6 separate regions of the Homo sapiens genome follow, and all the other regions are linked to region 5. The links are contacts of gene promoters, found by promoter capture Hi-C in blood cells and fetal thymus (Javierre and others, 2016). All regions are on one chromosome and are shown on one strand. Each heading gives the region's core, a stretch centred on a gene start or on the middle of the fragment in contact. The rest is flanking DNA. Distances are from core to core; before and after follow the strand shown.

The links. Contacts are between HindIII fragments. The CHiCAGO score rates a contact against its expected background, and 5 or more counts as called.
Region 1: a fragment that was not itself captured here is called in contact with the fragment with the promoter of LINC01948 in region 5 in 5 of 17 cell types (naive B cells, total B cells, neutrophils and 2 more); the score reaches 14.6 in naive B cells.
Region 2: a fragment that was not itself captured here is called in contact with the fragment with the promoter of LINC01948 in region 5 in 9 of 17 cell types (naive B cells, total B cells, neutrophils and 6 more); the score reaches 16.5 in naive B cells.
Region 3: a fragment that was not itself captured here is called in contact with the fragment with the promoter of LINC01948 in region 5 in 8 of 17 cell types (total B cells, naive B cells, neutrophils and 5 more); the score reaches 12.9 in total B cells.
Region 4: a fragment that was not itself captured here is called in contact with the fragment with the promoter of LINC01948 in region 5 in 2 of 17 cell types (naive B cells and total B cells); the score reaches 5.9 in naive B cells.
Region 6: a fragment that was not itself captured here is called in contact with the fragment with the promoter of LINC01948 in region 5 in 9 of 17 cell types (total B cells, naive B cells, neutrophils and 6 more); the score reaches 17.5 in total B cells.

Annotation. Positions count from the first base shown.
Region 1 is chr5:56,660,237-56,663,951 of GRCh38, reverse strand. No RefSeq gene overlaps it. Among named protein-coding and RNA genes, the nearest start is that of C5orf67, 56 kb to the right of the region's middle. The HindIII fragment of the contact is 2,308 bases long and covers 245-2,552 here.
Region 2 is chr5:56,641,677-56,645,141 of GRCh38, reverse strand. No RefSeq gene overlaps it. Among named protein-coding and RNA genes, the nearest start is that of C5orf67, 37 kb to the right of the region's middle. The HindIII fragment of the contact is 2,048 bases long and covers 633-2,680 here.
Region 3 is chr5:56,311,058-56,314,581 of GRCh38, reverse strand. The region is part of intron 2 of LOC105378977 (a long non-coding RNA gene); the gene reads right to left. Among named protein-coding and RNA genes, the nearest start is that of ANKRD55, 79 kb to the right of the region's middle. The HindIII fragment of the contact is 3,556 bases long and covers 439-3,524 here.
Region 4 is chr5:56,618,158-56,621,979 of GRCh38, reverse strand. No RefSeq gene overlaps it. Among named protein-coding and RNA genes, the nearest start is that of C5orf67, 14 kb to the right of the region's middle. The HindIII fragment of the contact is 6,601 bases long and covers 1-3,822 here.
Region 5 is chr5:56,479,180-56,483,091 of GRCh38, reverse strand. LINC01948 (long intergenic non-protein coding RNA 1948) reads left to right here and starts at 1,323. Exons shown (of 5, transcript NR_104664.1): 1 at 1,323-1,539. RefSeq lists enhancers at 1,395-1,554, 2,755-2,924. The HindIII fragment of the contact is 6,332 bases long and covers 1-3,132 here.
Region 6 is chr5:56,328,603-56,332,521 of GRCh38, reverse strand. All of the region lies in intron 2 of LOC105378977 (a long non-coding RNA gene), which reads right to left. Among named protein-coding and RNA genes, the nearest start is that of ANKRD55, 97 kb to the right of the region's middle. The HindIII fragment of the contact is 1,837 bases long and covers 791-2,627 here.

The DNA of each region.
Region 1 (3,715 bases), core at 149-2,648, 180 kb before region 5:
GAGTCCAATTTTGCATAGTGCCTTTCCAAAATTTCCAAACCTTCAGTGTAAGTCCTATTCAATACGGCTGTACATTAGTGGTGCCTTGCGGAATGAAGGGGAACAGTGTACCTGCAAAGAAAGGAGGGCTGTGAGGGTGAGCAAGAGGGTTGAGAAGCTCAGCAGGAGCCAGGAGCAGGGGTTGGGAAATGAGTGACCGGCACCCACCCAACAGAAGCCTCCTATGGCAGAGCCTCTGGAAGCTTGAGATGGATACCAGACTTCCTGCAGTTCAAATAATTACATTTGAATACTGAAGAAAAGAGAGGCCCCCGAGCCTGAAGGATTCAGTTGTTATGTCATTCTGACAGCAAATAAGGGAAAACAGAGGAAGGGTTGAATGGGGACATATTATGAGGGAAAGATTTGGTCACTTACTGTGTCAGAAGGTGATGGGCATTAGACCTGGAGGAGGGAAATGCTATTTTATCAGAACAATTCCTGCAAAATGATCAAGAAGGGTACATGAAAATTTGTTCAGGGTTTTTGGAAAGAGAAAGGCTAATCCCTTCTGGAAGGCTTCTTTTATAAGGCTGAAATGTGGCAAGGTGAGCTATGATCCAACTTATTTGTAATAGAATCTTATAGGAGAGGAATTCATGCTCTGATGGGCTTGAACTCCAAAAGAAATAGAATTACTTGGGTTTTTCTTGTTCATTCCATGATGAAGCTAATTCAAATCTCAACTTAGTTGTGACTTTTTACTTAGTGACTTTTTTTCCCCATTAGAATCCCCAAATAAGTGACTTATTTATTCTCATGTTATTATTCAAACCATTCTTCAGCTCACACTCAACCTCTGTTAGACATGAAGCTGGGAAACGGCTGGGAGAACTTCTGATTGGGACATGCTTGCATTTTTCACATGACTTTGCCAAAACGGGTTTCTGTATTCAAACTGAGAGCTTCTACCTTGAAAGCTGTCTTAACTTAGCATTCAAATCTACTTTGCAAGATCTTGAATTTAGAATTTCAGCTAGTTTTCACAAGTAATTCGTAGAATGGTTCTATTTTTCTTGGGAAATGAAAACAGCACCTCTTTGGGCAGGATTTAGAGAACCCTAGGAAAATACAGGGCTAAGGTTTTGATGTGTCTTTTATTGTCGTATTGATTGGATAAGCGGTAATCTGGGAATCTCTCTTAGAAAGGAGCACATAGGACTTTGGCAAGAAGGCTGTTTTAATAAAAAATAATCTTCTTTAAAGGTCAGAGGCCTGTTATGTAATGTGTAAGGTAGGATAAAAGGCTGTTCTTTCTGCATCCATAGAATCCTATGTGTGCATAGTATGAAAAGCAATACCAAACACCCCTATCCAATATCAACTCAAGGAAAACAATAGAATACTTTCTTATGTCCAAAAATGTGGTATTCCTTTATGTGAAGTGTCTCTGGACTGGGAAGCAGGACTGAACTCTCCAGCATCTGGCATCTGCTTTTGTTGTATCAACATGGCTCTGAACAGGACATGGTGATGTCTCTGACATTTGGTCTCGAATATCTGAGCTTTTTGGTCTTATCTTCACTTTCATCAACAAGTTGAATGAAAATAGAGAAGACATATTTAGATGTTTGTAGATTACATAAATTTGAGAGGTTTTACTGACTGAATCAGTATTTCTAAAAGAGCTCCACATGTTAGATCAATGGACTGAAACTAAGGGGATAAAGTTAAATGAGGAATGAATATCAGATCTTCGGTTAAAAAAAACAAATTGACTGGAGATGACTGGCTTAACAGAAGTTCATGTGGAAAGTCTCATGAGTTTTATCACCGAGGAAGTCCAATGGGAGTTGGTTGCCACGTGGTGAGCATCAAGTCTTAGAGTGCATTCACAGGAGTAGAATCCTCTGATAAAGGATGGCAATGGCCTGTCTGCATTTTAACTCTAGTCAAACTGCAGCTGAGTTCCATATACTTAATAGGGTCAAAGACAAATAACAAAAAACAAAAAACAAAAAAGCAGAGTTTGGAGACAGTCAACCAGCTGGTTAAAAATCAGGCAACTGTATCATATCTGGAACTGTTGCAGAAATTGCAGAAACCATGATTTAGCCCAAAATGGAAAAGCTCAGGAGGAGGCATGAGTGATTTCTCTATGGAAGGGTTGAAGAGCTTATGGATTTTAGAAGATTTTATAGATTTTAGAGTGCATGTAGTAGTGGGGCAAGACCAGGATGAATGTCTGCATGTTTAAGGGAAATCAAATGGAAATTGATGCAAGAAAGGATTCTCCAATGATCTAATGAGTAAGATTTGTTCAAAAGTAGAATGGACTGGCATGGGAAACAGTCCCCTGACCCTGAAGAATGAGGCCAGGTCCCAACCTTCTGGCAAAAATTTGTGGGGGGAACAAAGTTTAAGTTGTACCAGATCCCCCTACAGATTCTGTTCGTTGCAAAGTAGGTACAGGTTTTTCCTGGGGCTGTTCCCTCTCCCCTTTATCACAGCCATCACTCTGGGAAGGACAGGATCAACTACATAGCACCCTAAAGTTAATCACCTGTAAAGCTTGATGTCTTGAGCCCATGGGTATTTACACTTCAGCAAAGTTCCACCAAAACAGACATACTTCTATTCATGCAGAATACACTTGCTTCCACTAACAAACATGGAATATCACGAGAATAGGATTTTCATGTGCAACAATAAACTCCTGGAAGGAGACATTTGGGGAGGGGGTCAACTTGCATCTCTTAAGTGAAAAGACACAGGCAAGACTTTATATCCTATAGAAGTAGAAAGTCAGGAATGATTCTTCCTCACCTATCTGTTCTAGACAGTATGCTGTCTCTTTCCTCAAGGCAATTAGCAATCATTACCTAATGGGCTCAGGAGAAATAGAATACAGGAACTGTTACTGTTCCTTTTTTTTTTTTGAGATGGAGTTTTGCTCTTGTTGCCCAGGCTGGAGTGCAGTGGCACGGTCTCTGCTTACTGTAACCTCCGCCTCCTGAGTTCAAGCAATTCTCCTGCCTCAGCCTCCCTGAGTAGCTGGGATTACAGGCATTCGCCACCATGCCCAGCTAATTTTTTGTATTTTTAGTAGAGACGGGGTTTCACCATGTTGGCCAGGCTGGCCTCAAACTCCTGGCCTCAGGTGATCTGCCCACCTTGGCCTCCCAAAGTGATGGGATTACATGCGTGAGCCACCGCGCCCGGCCTGTTACTGCTCCTTGGTGTTGTTGTGGGGTTGAAAGATCAATGGGAACAGTAGCTGTGATCTTGGTTTGTGATGAGAATTTTTTAGCTACCACTTTCCACTCTAGGTCACTTTTATCTCAGCAGAGGAAGTGGAAAATGAAGATTAAATATTTGGACATGGCTACAATCATAAACTCTCAGCTTTAGAAGATTATTTCTCCTTTTTCTTCTTTCTCCCAGCCAGCAAGAAGGATAGAACAGGGAGGGTATCCAAGCTGCAGGAAGGCAGGCTACCAAATATTTTTGGGGTGAAGAGTCGCTATCCCAGGAGACGGGAGAAAGGGCTGGGAGGAAGGAAAGAACTGAGGAGTATTTTTCTCCCTCATCCAGGAGGCGCCTGGAGACCCTTTCTGAATCCGGCATCCTCCGGTTGGTGTCTTTGCAGGGATGTGCAGGGGCCCTGTGGAGTTCCTGCAGAATCCTGCAGCTGTTGGGGCCTCGGAGGAGATAGGCAGTGTGTCTCCCAGTCCTT
Region 2 (3,465 bases), core at 407-2,906, 160 kb before region 5:
TGGTAAAATAAAAATGTAATTGTCTCAAAATTGGTCTTAGGGCCAAAGAGAAATGTTTACCACAATGATTTCAAGATACCACTTTCCAGATTTTTTTTTTATCTTTAAGACAGAGAGCTTGCTGTAATTTATAATTTTTCAGAAGATTTGGTCTCAGTGAAATCTGTTGTACTGTCTTCCATGCTGATGTCTCCCTTCTCTGAGTTATTTTAGTGCATATGGCCGGTACTGCACAATTTATTTGTTCTCTAGTTGTTTCCTGTATGTGTCCCTTTTCTACTACCAACCAAGGTGTAAGGTGGGGAAGGTAAGGACAATCACTATTACTTTTCTCTCCCTTAATATCTGCTAAAGTGCCAGACAAATAGTTATGCAAAAACCAGCTGGTTTCTTGGCTTATGGGCTGACACCCAGGAGAACTCTTCTTCTCTCTAATGTCTACACACTTCTGATATGCTGCTTTTCATCCACCAACAATGGGCAAAATCGAATGAAAAACTTGTTAGCATTGTGGACAAAATAAGAGTACTTAGCTCTGAGTGATATTCTAAAAGATCTCTTGTCAATGAAATTCACAACCATGAAATATAGATGTTTAACATATTAATGTCTATTTTGCCTGCTCAGAAGCTTCCCTTTTCCAAGCTCATTCTTACTTTTTGGTTATTTCAATATTTTGAACAGGCTGAGGTTAGATAAGTGAGTTCTGAGTAAATGTGGTGTCATTATCATGGCCTTCCAAATAAGTTTATAAATTGTTTTTTAATTTTCAGATCCAGAAAATTGGAGCTTCTCGTAACTTTATAGCTTTTGATTGCCGAATGGCATGACTGGATTTTTGGTAGAGTTATGAAAAATCTAATGAAAATATGATATTTATAATCCAAAGTATATTATTTTGTTTTCAAATATCTGAAAGGACTAAACGATTCACATTCTAAAAATAATTCAAACAAATCCACAAAGTATAATTAATACATTAAAGTTTATACAAGACAATTTTACATAAGAAATCCTTTCAACAAATCCCTGTAACTAATAATTTTTTTTTTTTTTTTTGAGACAGAGTTTCTCTCTTGTTGCCCAGGCTGGAGTGCAATGGCCTGATCTTGGCTCACTGCAACCTCCACTTTCCAGGTTCAAGCGATTCTCCTGCCTCAGCCTCCCAAGTAGCTGGGATTACAGGTGTGCACCACCACACCCAGCTAATTTTGTATTTTTAGTAGAGACGGGTTTTCCCCATGTTGGTTAGGCTGGTGTCAAACTCCCGACCTCAGGTGATCCACCTGCCTCGGCCTCCCAAAGTGCTGAGATTACAGGTGTGAGCCACTGCATCTGGCTGTAACTAATAATTTTTTATTGGTATTTAACAAAGTGATACAATTCATAACAGTATTCCCCATTGGTTATGAATGCAGAACAGGAAGGGATTTGGAAAATCAACCCAGGTATACTGAAGAGGGAGGTTACAATTGCACCTAAAAAAAATCTTTCAAACACAGGGATTAGAATTTACATGAGATAATATTGGATTGTTCTTGTGGAAAACTCAAGTTGGCTTGGGTGGCATGGACATTGGAAATAGACTCTCCCAATGCAAGACAATTCCACTAGGATTTACTGAGTGCTTACTATGAGCATTATTCCCACGCAGGCCCTCAACCAAGTATTAACCAGACACAACATTGCTTACTTTCAAAGATACAATGAAATTGAGGATATGAAGGCTGATACAGCCTCATACCCCAAGCAAGTATTTATTGAGTGCCTAATGTGGGTCAAGAACTGTACTATTATATTACATCCTTTTTTGTTTTATTATTATTATTTTTTCAACAGAGTCTCACTCATTGCCCAGGCTGGAGTGCAGTGACATGATCATAGCTCACTGTAATCTTGACCTCCTGGGCACAAGGGATCTTACTGCCTCAGCCTCCTGAGTAGCTGGGACTACAGGTGTGCCCCACCACACCCAGATAACTTAAAAAAAATTTTTTTTTGGTAGAGATGGGGTCACGTTGCCTGGTCTGGTCTCAAACTCCTGGCCTCAAGCAATCCTTGTGCCTTGGCCTCCCAAAGTGCTGGGATTACAGGTGTAAACCACTGTACCTGGCCCCATTCTTGATTATAGATGAGAAAACTGAAGCTCAGAGAGGGTAGTTAATTTGCTGAAACACAGGAGCCAGGGTTTGCAGTCAGGCCTAACTCCAATGAAGTAGCTTCCTTTCTGTCCCATTGTCTCCTATGTGGCTGCAACCAGAATTTCCTACCTTGATAGGATCCTTTCTCCCCTTCATTGAGCTGTGGGTACCACAGTGACCTGGGGCAGGGGCCCACCTACAACTACATAAGATGGAGACAGAAGGGCTTAGATGTCAGGAACAGTCAGTATGCCGTATGAATGGGAATTCTAGTTCCCTGACTTACAGAAATTCTGAGAGAATTGGCACTGGTATTAGCAAGAAGTACTTTGGGCATCTCAGATGAAAGGCTCTACGTGAGTACAGAGGGTGGCTATTAGAGACTGGCATGGAATTTTATATGAAGGAGAGTGCTTACTAATTATAAGATAGCTACTCATTAGTAGATTTATTTTCTAGCTTAATCTCTCATTGTTGCTATTACAAGGACTTAGAAAAAAATGCCCAAAGGTTTATGACCAAGACTCAAAAGCTAAGCTTGCATGTCCTGAATAGACCTATCTGATTAAAATAATAAAAATAATAATAGTAATTAGAATAAATTCTGTTTACACCTTGTCTTTGCCTGAATGGCTTTAGAGTCCTGTAAAACTTTGCCTTTAGTATCTACATTCGTTCATTGGTCTGTGCTTGCCTGAGCATCTGAGAACATTTTAGAAATATTAGAAACTGACAGGACCACAGAATTAATGAGGCATCATCTTTGGAGCATACCTGTTGGGAGGAGAAGAAGGGAAAGGTGAACTTTGTTCTCCTGTAGCTAGATGGCCGCAAATCTTCCAATTCCTTTCATGTTCTTAGCCAATCCTGGTTCAGCCCTAAAGATTGTTATTATAAAATCCCCTCGAGTTAATGTTTCCCTTTGTCTATTGTTTAATTAATGACCCAGGCAGCGGCTCAGAAAGGAATGCAATTCTCATAAAACATTTTCCCACATTAAACAATCAAAAATTATTTGGGGGGAAAAAGAGAGAGAAAAGCAGGACAGGAACTTGGAGTTTTAGGCAACCTTTTACAGAAATTTGATTGGTATTTTTCTTTTCTGGCTATAAATAGAAAGCCAAGGAAAGGTTAAGTGCTAGGGGCGGGGTCACGGAGTAGATGGGAGCTGCCAAGCAGGAGTGGACGTGGACTGTTCAGGTCGTGAGGTGCACATTCTTTGTGTAAAAGAACATTTCAATATTCTTTATTTTGGAGTCCTGTCTTCAAAAACCGTCCATAGATACCATCTACCAGCCTCTTCTTTCTCCCACCTGTTTCTCCT
Region 3 (3,524 bases), core at 967-3,466, 170 kb after region 5:
AGACTCATTTGAAACATGAACAGAGTGATGTGGCCAAAGGAATCCAAGCCAGGTTTCACCAGGTTCCTATTGTGAACACACTGGATGTTTATATGAGAATCCCAGTGTATAGCAATCATAACTAGATAATAATTATGCTTAAGATTTGGTCCTCTTTCCATATATGGATTCAGTCCTTTTCTGTCATTTTGTCATTTTCATGGAATCTGGAGTTACGGAACCATCCAATGTTTATTACAGAGAATGACCACCCATAAGCCTCTCCATGCTTATGGAAGCAACAGTTCTGGGGCCGCTGGCTGCATATTCCTTCCAGGTGTTTATTTCTGGGTCTACATCATGTCCCTCACTCATCAATTTAACTCTATCCAGAGAATTCCTCTATGGTCTTCATCAGATTAGGAAGTAAATCATCAGTCACTTCAAATATTTCAAGCTTGGTTTTCTTTGACATAAATCAGTTCTCCTGACTACAATTCCTGGAAAATATTGTAGAGCCCAGCAGCATTGCAGTATTTCAACCTTCATTTGAGTTGCCTGTGACCCAGATGTGAGCTAGTGCTTCCACAGTCTCAGATGTCTGGGTGAATCCACCAATTCTACACCTGTGAACATCCCTGCCTTTGATTCTTTCTAATTGTCAGGAAACTTGCACTCATAATCCCTCCTGCCTCTGGCTCCTGGGTCCATATGTACTGGCTCTGTATCAGCCTCTCTCAACCCAGGTGTAATACTCAGCCCTTTGTCATTTTATACAAAACAATTCACACTTTAAGCATTTCTTGAGTAATACTTTGTACAAGTAATACCTTGGGATGCAGAGTGAGAGTATGTGGGTGGGTCATGTTACATAGTTCCAGGCTTCCCAAGGTCCTCTACCTCTAGGCTCTCTGTCCTGTCCTCTCTTCCTTCCTTATTTTCCCTGGGAGCTCCATGACCTTCTCCCTCTATCAGACAAATTAGCCCAGTTCCCCTTAGCTCCTACCGCTAAGTGTCCATCAAGGCCCTCAGCGAAACAAAGTGTGTTCTGTTTAACAAAATCTATGTTCCTTAGAACATAGCTAGAATATAAATAACAACAAAAGTTCAGGTGCATATATATATTAGTTGATGAAATCAAGTATAAATCTCTGCCTCCATTGAAAGATAGCACAATGTTTTAGAGAAGGAACTGAATTAGGAATCAGTCTATTCGAATTTGAGGCCCAGCAGCACCCTTCACTAGACAGGTGAAAAAGCCAGCAATTCATTTTCGGTCTCAGTTCATCATCTGAAGAGTGAAAATGTTACAAATATTTTGAATCATTATGCTGATTAAAGGAAATAACTTATTCACATGCACTCTGAAACATTAGAGCAGCGTTTCTCAGGACTTTTTTAGTTTTACCATGACTGAGAGTGCTGCTGGCACTTTGGAGGAGGTGCTGGGGATGCGAGGTGGCTGCCAATGTGGAAAAATTGTATATAACACAGTACTGCCTAATTATCAATAACATACCCATTGAGAAATGCTACATCTGAACACAGTATAAATGAAAGGTACGTTACTTCTGACCTTCCATCTTTTACACAAAATGCTGATGAATTTCTTCATGGTGTAGATAATTCTTTTAAACAATTTTCCTCATTCTGGATTATTTTAGCCCAATCTTTGTTCCAAGGTGATAGTTTCTCTGCCTTCCAATGATGCTGCCAACATTTTAATTGCAATCTTGAGCTTCCTTCTATACAGAGTGCTTCCATTTAGGGTATCTTTGTTTGATCTCTCAGTTGAAACTACATTTTACCCTCCAGAAAACAAAAAGAAGAAAGACAAATTATGGGTAAAGGCTGAGAGAATTTTCCACGTGGTGAAGGCAAGCAGTATGAGGAAGCAGGTGAGCTAAGTACCCACGGGGCAGCTATTCGGGCCAGTAGTTGTTTTCCCAAGGCCAGCGTCACCTGGTGTAAACAGCTGGTGGGCTTTTAATCAGGCTTCAAATCTCTTTCCCACCTCTCCTCTTCTGATTGCAATAAGCAATGTAGCCCTAACTAGGGCCCAGACTTCCAGACTGCAGACTTCCAGGAGCAACACAGTTCTATCCCCATTCTGTGACTTGCCATCTGCCCATGAAGCCTTGAGAGGGTCCATCATCTGCAGGCCTGACTCCTGATTTGCTCTCTTGGCTGTGGTGAAGCACTGTGGTCACCCACATACACTCTCCCTTTATCCTCAGGCAAGGACTCAGGGCTGCTACTCCTACCACAGAGGTAGATGGACCCCATGAGGTGGGTTTGGGGGAGGATTAGCATGTACTTTCTTTGGGCCAAGAGCCAAATGAGCATTTACACTCATCTTACCAACACTACATCCTTAGGGTTTAGAGAGCTGTTTTGAAATGCTTGATACAGTGAGGGTGCTCAGAGATATTTCATCACTTATATAAGAGGGGGGACCCCTGCCTCTATAGGCTTATGGAGGAATGTGATTCAGATGAGAGTAGGAGGGCCTAACTGGCTGGGAAGGTATGGAATCTGTAAGCCAGTTATACTCCTATTTCCAGTCAACAGGCTGAACCCATAAGTTTTTGTTTTTAGATGATATCTCTGATTATTTTGACAATGTCACTTCTCTGAAACTTTCAATGACTCTCTCTGCTGATAGAAAAATTCCAATTTCCTTAGCCTTTCATTGAATCTATCCATAATTTGGGTCCAACCTACTTTTCTAGTCTTCTATTTTGTAACTCCCCTCGCAAATCTTACACCCCAGCAGTTTTGAATTAAAACAAAACAAAACAAACTTTTTCTTCCCTGAAAACAGGTCCTCCAGCTGGTCCTACTATTAGTTAATGAGCAAAATGACCCTGGCAAATCATTAACGTCTCAAAATCCCAGCAGCCTAGCTTTTAAAATCCAGTGGCAAGACCTTGGCTGATGAATTTTTCACAAGTTGCCCAGGTGAATCTAACACATCAAACATCTGGACCTAAAGCCCTCTTCAACTATGATTTTCCCACACATTCCCCAAGCACTGCAATTCTCTGTCTCCACGTGCTTATCAAAGTATCTTTTCCTGGAATGCTTCACTTTCTCTCTGCTTAACCCTGTAAACTCAGGTGCATACACACATGCACACCTGTGCACATACACACACGCCAAGGCCCTTCAAGATCAGCTCCAACACTGCCCTCTCCAGAAGGTCTTGCCTAAGGTTGGAGCTCACCTTTCAATGCCCTCTTTCTTCAAACAGCTTTAAATAGCATTTATCACGATTATTCCTTGGTGGGTCTTAGCTCACCACCGGTAGACTGAAACTTGTTGAGAGTATTCCTTCTTGCTCACCTTTCATTTTCCACATTAATCGTGAAAGTAGCTTGTGAGAGTTGGTTGAATTGAGTTAAATTAACCTGACATGAATTAATTGAGAGACATCTTGCTGAAGGTGACAAGTTGGAGGCTCTTGGGAGGATTATAGATAAGGGTGGAGGGCTTGTGTCTCCTGACCTATGTCTCTGCCTATCGTGGAACTCTTACCAGGCACA
Region 4 (3,822 bases), core at 462-2,961, 140 kb before region 5:
ATCCAAAAATAACTGAGGAAAAGAACTGAATTGCGAGAGATTAGAAATGACATTATGGCTATGAAGAATAGTCGATGGAGATTTAATACACAGAAAATAGCAATTCATGGACAAGAAAAGAGAAAAAATAAAACATTCAATGATATAATATAAGAAAACTTTCCTAGAATGAAGGACAATCTGAATCTGCAGATTGAAAGGGATTATTGTAACCTGGGAAAACTTAATAAATAACAACCCATATCAAAGTATATTCTGGTGATGTTAAATAACATCAAAAAAGAAAAGGAAATGAAAAAAAGAAATTTCTGTAATCATCCAACAATAGAAACAGAAGCAGATCACTATTACTTTATTTCTACCCCTACCTCCATAAAAATCAGCCCACAAAAACAAAAACAGGCCAACAGTTTAGCCTGATCTCAAGCACTTCAGGATCATTTTCTGATGAAGACAATGGAATAACATCTAAAGAATGCAGAGGGGAAAGAGTGTCACTCAGCCAAGATGTCTTTCTCATGTAAGGGAAATACTAAAATATTCACAGGAATGGAATTATTCATGTACCCTTCCTGGAAAATTTTTTGAGAAACATAACTCAGCTAACCAGATTAAATGTAATAACAATGATGTAAAAAGAAAGAAAGAATCCTAACTTTATAAGTGAAATAAAAAGAACTGGAAATAACATCGAATTGATTTAGATTTTAAATTAAGGGCAATAATTTTAATTGAAAGTATAGAGAAATTTCTTCCTATACGGATACCTGAAATTAATATTTATAAAGGCAGGACTGAGCTGGTGGTAAAGTGGGGAAACAATTGGAGGCCAGAGACGGAAGAAAGGATGATACCACAGGTAGAAGTGAACTCTGATCTGTGTTTGCCTTGTGCAATATCCCCTTATACTCCCTTAAATCCCTGGAGGATTTTGTCTAGATTTCCATGGGCCAGATATTCTCAAGGGACAGGAGCAAAAACTGGAGCTTAATCCAGGACAGGGTGGATTGAATGCCTTCACATAAATTTAGAACTTCTAAAAGATGTCATCTTCAGTGAGTAAAAAATCAATGAGGCAAAAAAGGACTATTCAATTAGAAGTAATGGGAGAAAATTGGTTGTCCTTACAAAGGATAAAAAAATTAAAAATGCCTTTCTCTTTAGACCTTACACAAAAATCATTTCCAGATTCATTCATGACTTAAAAATGGAAAGGCCAAATTTAAGCCTTTTAGAAAAAAATAGGAAATATCTTTATGATTTTGAGGTAGGGAAAGACTTCCTATGCAAGACACCAAAAGCATCTAAACATAAAGGAAAAGATTATTATACTTGACTATATTAAAATCAAGAACTTCAGCTTATCAGAAGAAACCTTATTTTCTCTGAGAGAGAAAAAATAAGAGTCATAAAGAGGGAGAAGACATTTGCCACACATGTGACCAAAGGGCTAGTCTCAGAATGCAAAAGAACCCTTTGAATCATTAAGAAAGAGAGGAATAAACTAATAGAAAAATGGGCAATTTTCATGAACAGTCATTTTCTAGAGGAGGAAATACAAACAGCCAGTAAATATATAAAATATTATTGCTCTTATTATATGTCAAGACAATGTAAATAAATACTACAATAGTATCCTTTCATATCAGATTAATGACAGTTAAAAAGTCAGTTAATACCAAGTGTTGGCGAGAAAGCAACAGGAGCTTTCAAAGGCTGCTTGTGGGAGCGTAGCTTGTTACAATTGCTTTGTTAAACAATCCAGCACTAACTGGTAAAGGTGAATATGTGCATACTCTAAGACCCAGGTATTTATCTTCTATGTATAAATCTTAGAGAAACTTTTACAGGTGAACCAGGGCATGTTCAGAAAAGCGTTATTCCTATTAGCAAAAATCTTAAAGTAATATAAATATCCATCAACAATGAATTGGATTAAAAAACTTAAGGATATATATATACTGTACTACCATGTAGCAGTAAAAATAAATGAACATGCTGTATTCTATCTGTATATGTAAACACATATGATGCTGAACCACAGAAGGAAGTTACAAAAATATAGAATGATTTCGTTAAGAAAAGTTGAAACAAGGCAAATGAAATGATATATTGCTTGGAGGAAACACAGGTGGTAAAACTATGAAGAAAAGCAAGGGAATGCTCAGTGCTATTTCAATGTAGGATACGGCTGAGGGCATAGAAATGGACAGATCAGAAAGCAGCACATAAGCCCTCTGCATGGATCAGAGCACAGTGTGAGGGACATGGGTGTCATTTTTTATTTTTCATTAAGTAGTGAAAATATACTGTATGTACTTTTAGTACATACAATTTTTAAGTATTTTAAGAAGTTAAATGGAAAACTATAATAAATATGGTGAAAAGTGATTTTATTGTAATAAACTGACAAAAGTACAGGTGTACATCAAGAAAATTAATTTAGTGTAAAAAGTATTAATAAAAGCAAAGCAAATGATTTTATATGTTGGCTCAAATACAAAATTAAGACAATAATTATAAAGAGAACACATAGGAGCCAAAAAGAGGCAGCTTTTAAAAAAATAGGATGCAAAGCCCAGAAACAGACCCAAGCACATATAGAAATCCAACATGTAAAAGCAATGATAGCTCTTATTTTGATCACATTTACTAGGTACATTGCTGCTTGAACTTAAATTAACTCCTGATTTAAATGTAGAATGAAGCCATAAATATAAGACTCAGAATGCAGCTTAAATGTCACTTCCTACAGGAAGTTTTCTTTGACGTCCCTGGAAGTCCATAAATGCTCCTGCTGTGGGCTTCCAAGCAGCCTATATATTCCCCATTACTACAGATAACATTCTTCATAGCAGTTCTGTGTTCAAATCCACCCCATTCTAACCCCCTAGAAGACTATGAGCTCAATGAAGGTATGGTACTATTCTTGTTTTTGTGTTTTGAGACAGGATCTCTCCCTGTAGCCCAGGCTGGAGTGCAGTGGTGTGATCACAGCTTACTGTAGCCTCCAACTCCTGGGCTCCAGCAATCCTCATGCCTCAGTCTCTTAAGTAGCTAGGGCTACAGGTACATACCACCATGGCCGGCTAATTTTTTTTTTTCATTTTTGCAGAGACAGAGTCTCACTATTTAGCCCATGCTGGTCTCAAACTCCTGGGCCTCAAGCAATCCTCCTGCCTACGCCTCCTGAGTCGCTGGGATTACCCATACGAGGCATTACACCCAGCCCCTTATTTTATCTTATTCACTAGCAAAGTGGAGAGTGCCTGGCACAGAGTAGGTGTTCAATAAACATATGTTAAATTCACACATAAATAATCAGAGAAATGGATTTCAATTTGATATGGGGCAGGCCTATGAAAGCAAAAGCCATAGCAGCAAATAATTGAATAATTGACTACATCAGACACAAAAACACAATAATTCTATAACCAGAGAAAAGGCAAATGGCAAAATTGAGAAAATGTATGGTATTGAGATAGAAGAATAGGGAATTAGGGTAACCAGGGGTTAAGGCATAAGCAAGGGAACAGCAGGTGCAGCCAGTTCTAGGCAAGATTAGGCAGTAAACAGGCCACATATTCACTCCTGTGACAACAAGACAGAAGTCTCCACTTCAGCCTCGGACTGGTCGTAGGGCAATCCTTCATAGGGTGTAACCAATTGGAGGCCTGTAAAGGGCACCTACGGGTGTTACCAAGTTTTTTGTTTTAGCTTAATAAAAACCCTAAAGAACATTGCAATGGGGTGGGGGTGGCTCTTGAGCCGCTTGCTAGAGCCTGCTCACACTCTGTGGAGTGTACTTTTGCTTCAATAAAT
Region 5 (3,912 bases), core at 74-2,573:
GATAATCAGCAATGCTGAGCATCTTTTCACATTTGTTGGCTGCTTGCATGTCTTCTTTTGAGAAGTGTCTGTTCATGTCTTTTGCCCACTTTTTAACAGGGTTGTTTGTGTTTGTGTTTTGCTTGCATAGCTGCTTTCCATGTTCTTTTCTATGTTATCTAGAACTATAATAAAAGTAACTGCCCAGCTCTTTGGGAGGCTGGGGCAGGCGAATCACTTGAGGTCAGGAGTTCAAGGGTAGCCTGGCCAATATGGTGAAACCCTGTCTCTATTAAAAATACAAAAATTAGCCGAGTGTGGTGGCACACACCTGGATTCCCAGCTACTCAGGAGGCTGAGGCAGGAGAATTACTTGAACCCCCAAGGCGGAGGTTGCAGTGAGCCCAGATCGCACCACTGTACTCCAGCCTGGGAGACAGAGTGAGACAGCGTCTCAAAAAAACAAAAAAAAAGGAACTAGGTCTAAGACAGGGTACCCAATCTATTTCTAAGAAGATGCTACTTCTCATTTTCTGGAAACACTGTAGCAAAGAGGAAGGGACAATAATGTCCCATAGTGGGTGGGCAGATATAAAAACCCCAAGATGTTCATTTCAGGCCCAAAGTGACTACTGCTTGCTACCCTCACCTTTCTCTGCTGGAACACTACCAGCCCCTGTGAGATGTGGGTGATCTCATGGGTGTTTGGAAGAATCCCAGTACCAGGCTAGGGGATCATCAAAGCTGACTGGATCAGTCCTGCTAGATCAGGAAGCCTTACTGAGTAAGGCTAATGCCAGGTCTCCAAACTGCCACTGAGCATCAGGGGTCCTTCCCACAATATCTTTGTTTCTCTAGGTCAAGAAATGATGCCGTCCCTAGAAACAGCGCAATGTTTATGTAAGAGTCAACTCAGAGACCTTGTGCCGGTACAAGAGGTACTATCTCATCCTGCTCCCCTGCAGGCACTAAATGAGACAAAATTCCTTCTGGAGTTCAAGTCCAGAAGGCTGACTATGCTGTTAATGGCAGTATACTGAGTTAAGAGAATTCGGGGAGACGGGAATATTGGGTCCACGATTCTGCCTGGAGGGAAGAATTGTGGTCTCCTCAGTCCTGTGGAGTAGGGGTCCGGGCTGATGATAGCGCCTCCTGGTGCAGAGTATACAAACAGCTGAAGATCTGCCTGGACCCCCTACCCCTCTCTTTTTTCCTTGTGGAAACTGTGTATAATTTGGAAAGAGCAAGGACATCCTGGCTCGCAGCTGGCCAGCTCCACCTGCGACCTGGACAGCCTCGCCCCTCCCTGCGGAGCCAGGCGAGTTCACAGGGCTGCCTCCGCTTCTTGCAGCATGTCTGCTCTCCTGGCCTGGCCTCTCCAGACCTTTCCCTCCACGGGCAGCGATTTCCAAGGCTCTCAAGACTCCAAACCACGTCGTTTTGGGAGTGAAAAAGTGAAAGCACACATCGTGTCATTAGAGCAGCAGGGACCAGCTGCTGGGTCAACACTTCCGAAAACAGCGCTTCCTGGGGAGCGACCGGAGCATCTCAGAATCTACGGTTTGACCTCCTGCCAATTCTCATGGTGTCTTTATACATTTTAACACAAAAATAAGATGTTTTCACTTGAGAGCGAGAGGGAAATGAACTGTTAAGGTGCTCTGTCGCCAGAGAAGTGAAGTTGGGGGGTAAATTTTAGGAACCCCCGACCCCCCTACCGAGGGAGGATGCGAAGTCGGCTCCTGAAACGCGAGCGAAACCCCCGCGCGCTTCCCGGGGTGACGCACATGTCTGTGTTTCTTTTTGCTTTTGACCAAAAGTCGTAGGGAGGGTCCTCCTCAGGGGACAGTCGCGGGCGCTGTGCCAGTCCTTCCTGTCCCCCCACCAAAGTCAACCCCAGCCCCAGGCCAAGGCCGCCCCGGCCGGAAGAGCCAGCTGGTGGGGGCCGTGGGGGGCGCGGCGGGCGCGCGGGGCTGGGGGCGGCGGGTCCGCCTACCCCGCCTTCCTGGCGTGGAGAGTTTCGGCCCCAGCCTCGCTGGCGTGGACTCTGCCTGAACCACGCCTGGGATGCTTTTGCCAAAGGAAACTTGGGGGGTGGGGGCGGGGCGGGCGACGATTCCCCCCCTCCCCACCCCGCCCCTGTCCTCCTCGGCCGGGAGCCGCGCTGGGCCGGGGTCAGCTGGCTGCCTTTGTGGCCGCTTCCCAGGAAGGAAGAAGCGTTGTCTGCAGATCAGTTGATCCGCGGGCTTTCCTGTGTCGGAATGCCGCCGTTTTCCGGGGACGGCTGCCACCCCCGTGATTCCCAGCCGGGGCTGCCGGCCGTGCGTAAGAGCCGGATAAATAGGCCATTGTGAGGCCGTTCAGATCTAGGTTTCTTATCACAGTATCCACCAGCGAGAAGCAGATTCGGCCCCTGATGGAGCTCATCCCAGCTTCTCTTTTCTTTCTCTGCACAGTTACAGCCATTTCTATTTTTTGCAGTTGTAAAGGGAATATTCAGAAAGCAATTTATTGTGTGCGACAGGGACTTAAGGGAGCGTGTCTGCAGACCGTGTTCCCACCGGGGTTGGGGTTCGCAACCTTGAGTTTAGCTCGATGGGCTTTGGTGTGTGAGGTTTCTACCCGCCCATCGCCCAAGGCAGGCACGTCCTTAAACACCAGCTGCAAGTATCAGGAGGGCAAGTCCGTAGGTCTCTAGATCCAGTGGGTTGGCTTTTTGGTGTTTGTTTTGTTTTGTGATAGCCTTGATCTGCTTTGTGGACACTGAAAATTTGAAGGTCGAGGGAACACGAGTTAAAACAGGTCAAATGAGGGAGGTTCTGAGGAAGGCTGGTGGTTTGGGAAGAGCTGATGCTGATGGTGTTGAGTGTCTGTTTTGTTTTTGTTTTTCTGCTGCAGCAGCCGCAGGGCTGTGGAGGGGTTGGGGTTTCCTGGTGTTTGACTTATTGGATAGTCATTGCTTGGCATGGCTGGGTTTTTGGGCCTGTGACCTGTGCTCAGAAGCCGACGTGTGCTTAGTTGGATGCTCTACTGACACCATGTTGACATGCTTAATAATTTTTGAAAAGGACCCTGCATTTTCAGTTTGAACTGCACCCGGCAAATTATGTAGCCAGGGCTGTTAGTAGACTCTCAAATTCATTTGAATAAGCTTGAATAACGGTTTGAATCAGTTCCCATTTGAGATAAGGGCCTGTGGTTAGTCGATAAGCTGCTGAAGGTGATTCTCTTAGTTTTCAGAGTATCTACTGTGGCTGTGCTGACGGATTAGAGCACGTTCCACAAACTAAACCAGGCTGCCTGGCATCGTGGGCATCTGCAGGGAGCGGCACCAGCCCCCTGCCAGAACAGAAGAGTGCAGCCAGGCAAGATTAGCTTCGTTCCGCCTGCTGAGACATCATCCTTTAGAAAGCATAGAATGTGCAGCCCTCAAAAACCTAGTGATTTCCTTAATAAGATGCTTATTTGTGCAGTTATTGCTTCTCTTTTCTTTTCCACTCTGAAATGCCTGGCTTCCAGGGTTGAAAGTGGATTCATCCTACCAAAAATATTCTATCGTTTTTGGGCACTGTGTTAATACTTCCAGCACCTGCTAAGGACTGAATGTTTGCATCCTCCCAAGATTCAGATATTGAAAATCTAACCTTCAATGTGATGGAATTTAGAGGGGGGTCTTTGGAGAGTAATTAGGTTTAGATGATGGCATGAGGGTGGGGCTCCGTGATGAGATTAGTCTCTATAAGAAGAGAAAGCAAAACTAGAGCCTTTTCTCCCTTCACCTGCATGAGGACGCAGCAAGAAGGTAGCTATCTGCAAGCCAGGACCAAGGCCCTCATCGGGAACAGAATCTGCTGGCACCTTGCTCCTGGACTTCCCAGCCTGCAGAACTGGGAGAAATAAATGTCTGTTGTTGAAGCCATCCAGCCTACAATA
Region 6 (3,919 bases), core at 460-2,959, 150 kb after region 5:
ATTACCACAAGTTTGTTTGGCTTAAAACAACAACAATTTATTCTCTTAGAGCTCAGGGGGCCAGATGCCTGAAATGCAGGTGAAGCAGGGTTGAGCTCCCTCCAAAAGCCCTAGAGGAGAATGCATTCCTTGTCTCTTTCACTTCTGGTGTCTATTGGCTTTCCTTGGCTTATGGCTGCATCTCTGCTCTGTGCTCACATTGCCTTCTCTTCTGTATGTGTGGTATTGAACTTCCCTCTGCCTCTCTTTCTCACATGTGATTGTATTTAGAGCCCACCCAGATAATTCAGACTAAGCTCCTCCTCTTAAGATATTTAACTTAATAACATCTTTCACCATACAAGGTGATATTCACAGATTTTAGGCATTAGACATGAACATATCTTTGAGGCCATCATTCAGTTCACTACAGGGACATACACAAGGATATTTATTTTTTAAATTCTATTAACAGCAAAAAACTAGAAACAGCACAAATGCCCCACCCACAAGATAATGCATAATGTATAATGTAATAAGAATATTATATAGCAGTATAGAGTCAATTTCATCTTCATCTATATCAGCACACATAGTTATCAAACACTTGTCATAAAGCAAGTTGCAGAATGACATATACAATATTATATCATTTATTTAATTTTTAAACAGGAATACATATATTTATTAGAAGTACGCAACATGAGCTAAATAGATATATACAAATATATGACAGTGTTGGAAACTGGGGAGCACCCATGGCATAGAAGATGGGAAGTAGAGCAAAGATGGTTCCATTAAAAGAGAAGCTTCTTTTATAATAATACACAAAAGACAAATTCCAAAATGTGAACAGTCCTTAATCTTGGGTTATAGGCACTGAAGTGTTTGTAATTCTATGCACATTTTAAATGATTTTTTAAATATTTTATAATTTTGTTTTTTATATTTAAAGATAGAAAATATTTTATGGTTATTCAGAAAACAGTATGAAGGATAAATTAGAATAGGCAGGAAATAGAGGGAAGGAAACCATTTAGAGACTACTACAAATAAGAAATAGAAAAGATGTATGAAGATTGGACCTAAGAAAGTGACCATGAAAACAGTGAGAAAAGGGTGATTATGAACAAAATTTACAAGGTAGACTCTTTAGGGCCTGTCTACTGAGTCAATGGGCACCAGGAGCGAGAGCGAGAAGGAAGATTCAAGGTGATGCCAAATTACTGACCTAAGAAACAGGTTGAATGGTGGCAGTGCAGTCACAGACAACTACTAATCTGCTTTCTGTCACAGTGAAATAGTTTCCATTTTCTAGCATTGTATATAAATGAAAGGCAGTAGGCACTATTTTTTTTTTTTGGTCTGGCTTCTTTCTCTCAGCACATTTATTTTAATATCCATCCCTGTTGTGTGTATAGCAACAGCTCATTCCTTTTTATTGCTGATTAGAATGGCAAGTTTCATTGACTGTCAGTCACCCTGGAGTGTCATTCCTGGCTGAGCCTCTCCCTGGCATGTGGACACTCAAGATTCATTCCCCCATCATCTGCCCACCTCCCTCCCACATCTGAATCTGCAGCTGTTTGCCTTCCCCAAATCCTCTTGTCACTGTTTGACGAGCAGTTACTGTTAGAGTGATTTCCTGGTGGGTTGCAAAATGTTACAATGTAACCAAGTATTAAATGAGCAAAATACTCTCCAAGGAATTGGAGGAGGTTGTCTTCAAAGTTGAATCTCAAAAATTCTGATTTTTCTACATTTCTGCTTAGTTCATCCTTCTAAAAAGACACCGTCATTTCTAATATGGACTCACTAAAGACATAAAGATGGCCAGTACAAGTAAGCTAAGACTACTGAATGAACACTCCAATTACCTTGTTTGAGGTTGGTCCCAAATTTATCTTTTGGTTGGCCTGCACGGATAATAAATAAATAAGCAAACAACAATAGAATAAATACCAGTGGCCTAAGTTCCACATCATTAGCATTTTGTGTTCCCAGAGCTACCATGTGGATCAGATTCAACTGGTATCCTGAGGGCTCCAGTGCTGCCTTAGAAAAATGATTAGTCTGGTGTACCAACCTCTGGGAAGTCTGCTATAGCCAGATTCCAGGAAATAGGCACTTTGACAGAGTCTTCAGCATGAATGCCCAAGGGAAGGAGAAGCTCTGAAAGAAAATTGTTTTAAATAGCTGCCTAATGATTGAGCGTCATGAAATGCTTTCACTTGGCAGGGCAAAATTGCACTACCTAGAAATGTCTGGGTGGCATTTAGAGTTGACAGACAGTAATGAGCGCTGGTTAAAAAAAAAAAAAAAGAGGTATTTTAGTGCTCTAGCAATTGCTAGACCTTCAGAAACACATCTCCCTTCTATATTTACACCTGCATTTTAAAAAGAAAAAAGAACAAAGAGAAGGAAAGAGAAAAAGGAAGGAAAGAAAAAAGGGAGAAAAGTATATCTATCATTTTATCCATTTCTAAAGACTCTTACATCAATTTAAAAGCTAACCATAATTGATCTTTTACTATGAACAATGTTTTGTGCTAAGTGCTTTACAAATATTAGCTAATTTCATCTTCACAACAACTGTTTAAGGCATACAACATTATTTCTCCCTTCTTACACATAAAGAAACTGAAGCTTGCCTGAGGTCATCATCTAATTGACAAGTCACGGTTCAAACCTAGGTGAGTCTAGCTTTAGAATTTGGGTTTCAATCACCGTATGGCATTGCTTCTCTTTCCTAACCTGGACTTAGTGATTGTGCAAACAGTGATGTCAACCATCTCAGCTTGCCTGGGTAGGGATGAAGAGAATTTCCTTCGCTCTTGCTTCTGAAGTTTAAATAATTTGAGTCTATAAAACAAACTAACAATAGGCAGATTCACAGGGAAAAAAAAGTGTACAAATTTTATTAATGTGCATATGGACACAGAAGCCACACACAAAGTATGAGACTCAATGGAAAGCCAGATGGCTGAAGGTTATATACCATACAGCAAGGAATAGAGGCTTGGGGCATGGCAAGACAAGTTATTGGAGGAAGAGGGGAGAAAAGGCATGGTGAGCAAAGGCTATCTTGTTATGCAGATAGAGCCCCATGGATAGCAGCCCTCGGAAAGAACAGACAGTATCCTGCTCTTATGTGGTAAAACTTTATCTGTCAGACCTTTTGAAGTGTCAGAACTTTAGTCCCTCTTTCCTGTGATTTAATCTTTCCTAGGTCTGGATAAGGGAGGCCTTATAAAACCCTGTTTGTGTCTGCTGTTAACTTCATTTCACTAATGTAGATTTCCTCTACAGATGCAAATCTCCCCGCCTCCCCAAAAGACAGCTTTTCAAAGCTTTTCCTGTGGTTTGCAGTTCCTGTGAATAGTCATATCAAAATATACCAAAGAAGTATATTTTGGAGTGGCATATTTTTGTTTCCTTTACCTGAGACCCACAGGACCTAAAGCGCTAAAACCTGGAAAGTCCCAGGCTAACAAGCATGAGTTAGTCATCCTCCAAGAATGCAAAAATATGAAAGAAACCTCTCTCTACTCAGTGATAAAGCTTCTCCAACTTAAGTGAAGGGACATTATAGTGTGCAAAGAGACCAGGCCCTAAAAGAACTGAGTCCTTGTCTCAATCTGCTTATAGCCAGCTCCAAGAGACCTTGACCAAGTCAGGTGACCTCTCTGGGCCTCAGCTCCTTCCTTCTTAAAATGATGAAGGTGGGTTAGATAAACAGGTCTCCACTTGGCTGTACATGAGAACCATGTGAGGAACTTTCAGTAAAGGCCGGTGCTCAGACCCCACCCCACCCCTGACCAATCAAATCCCAGAATATCTGGGGTTGGGGAACTGAATTTACTGCAGAGAACAAAGCATACATGTCCCACTTCTTAGAGCTAACAATTTAGTGGAGGAGCAAAAAGGCAAACTATGATTC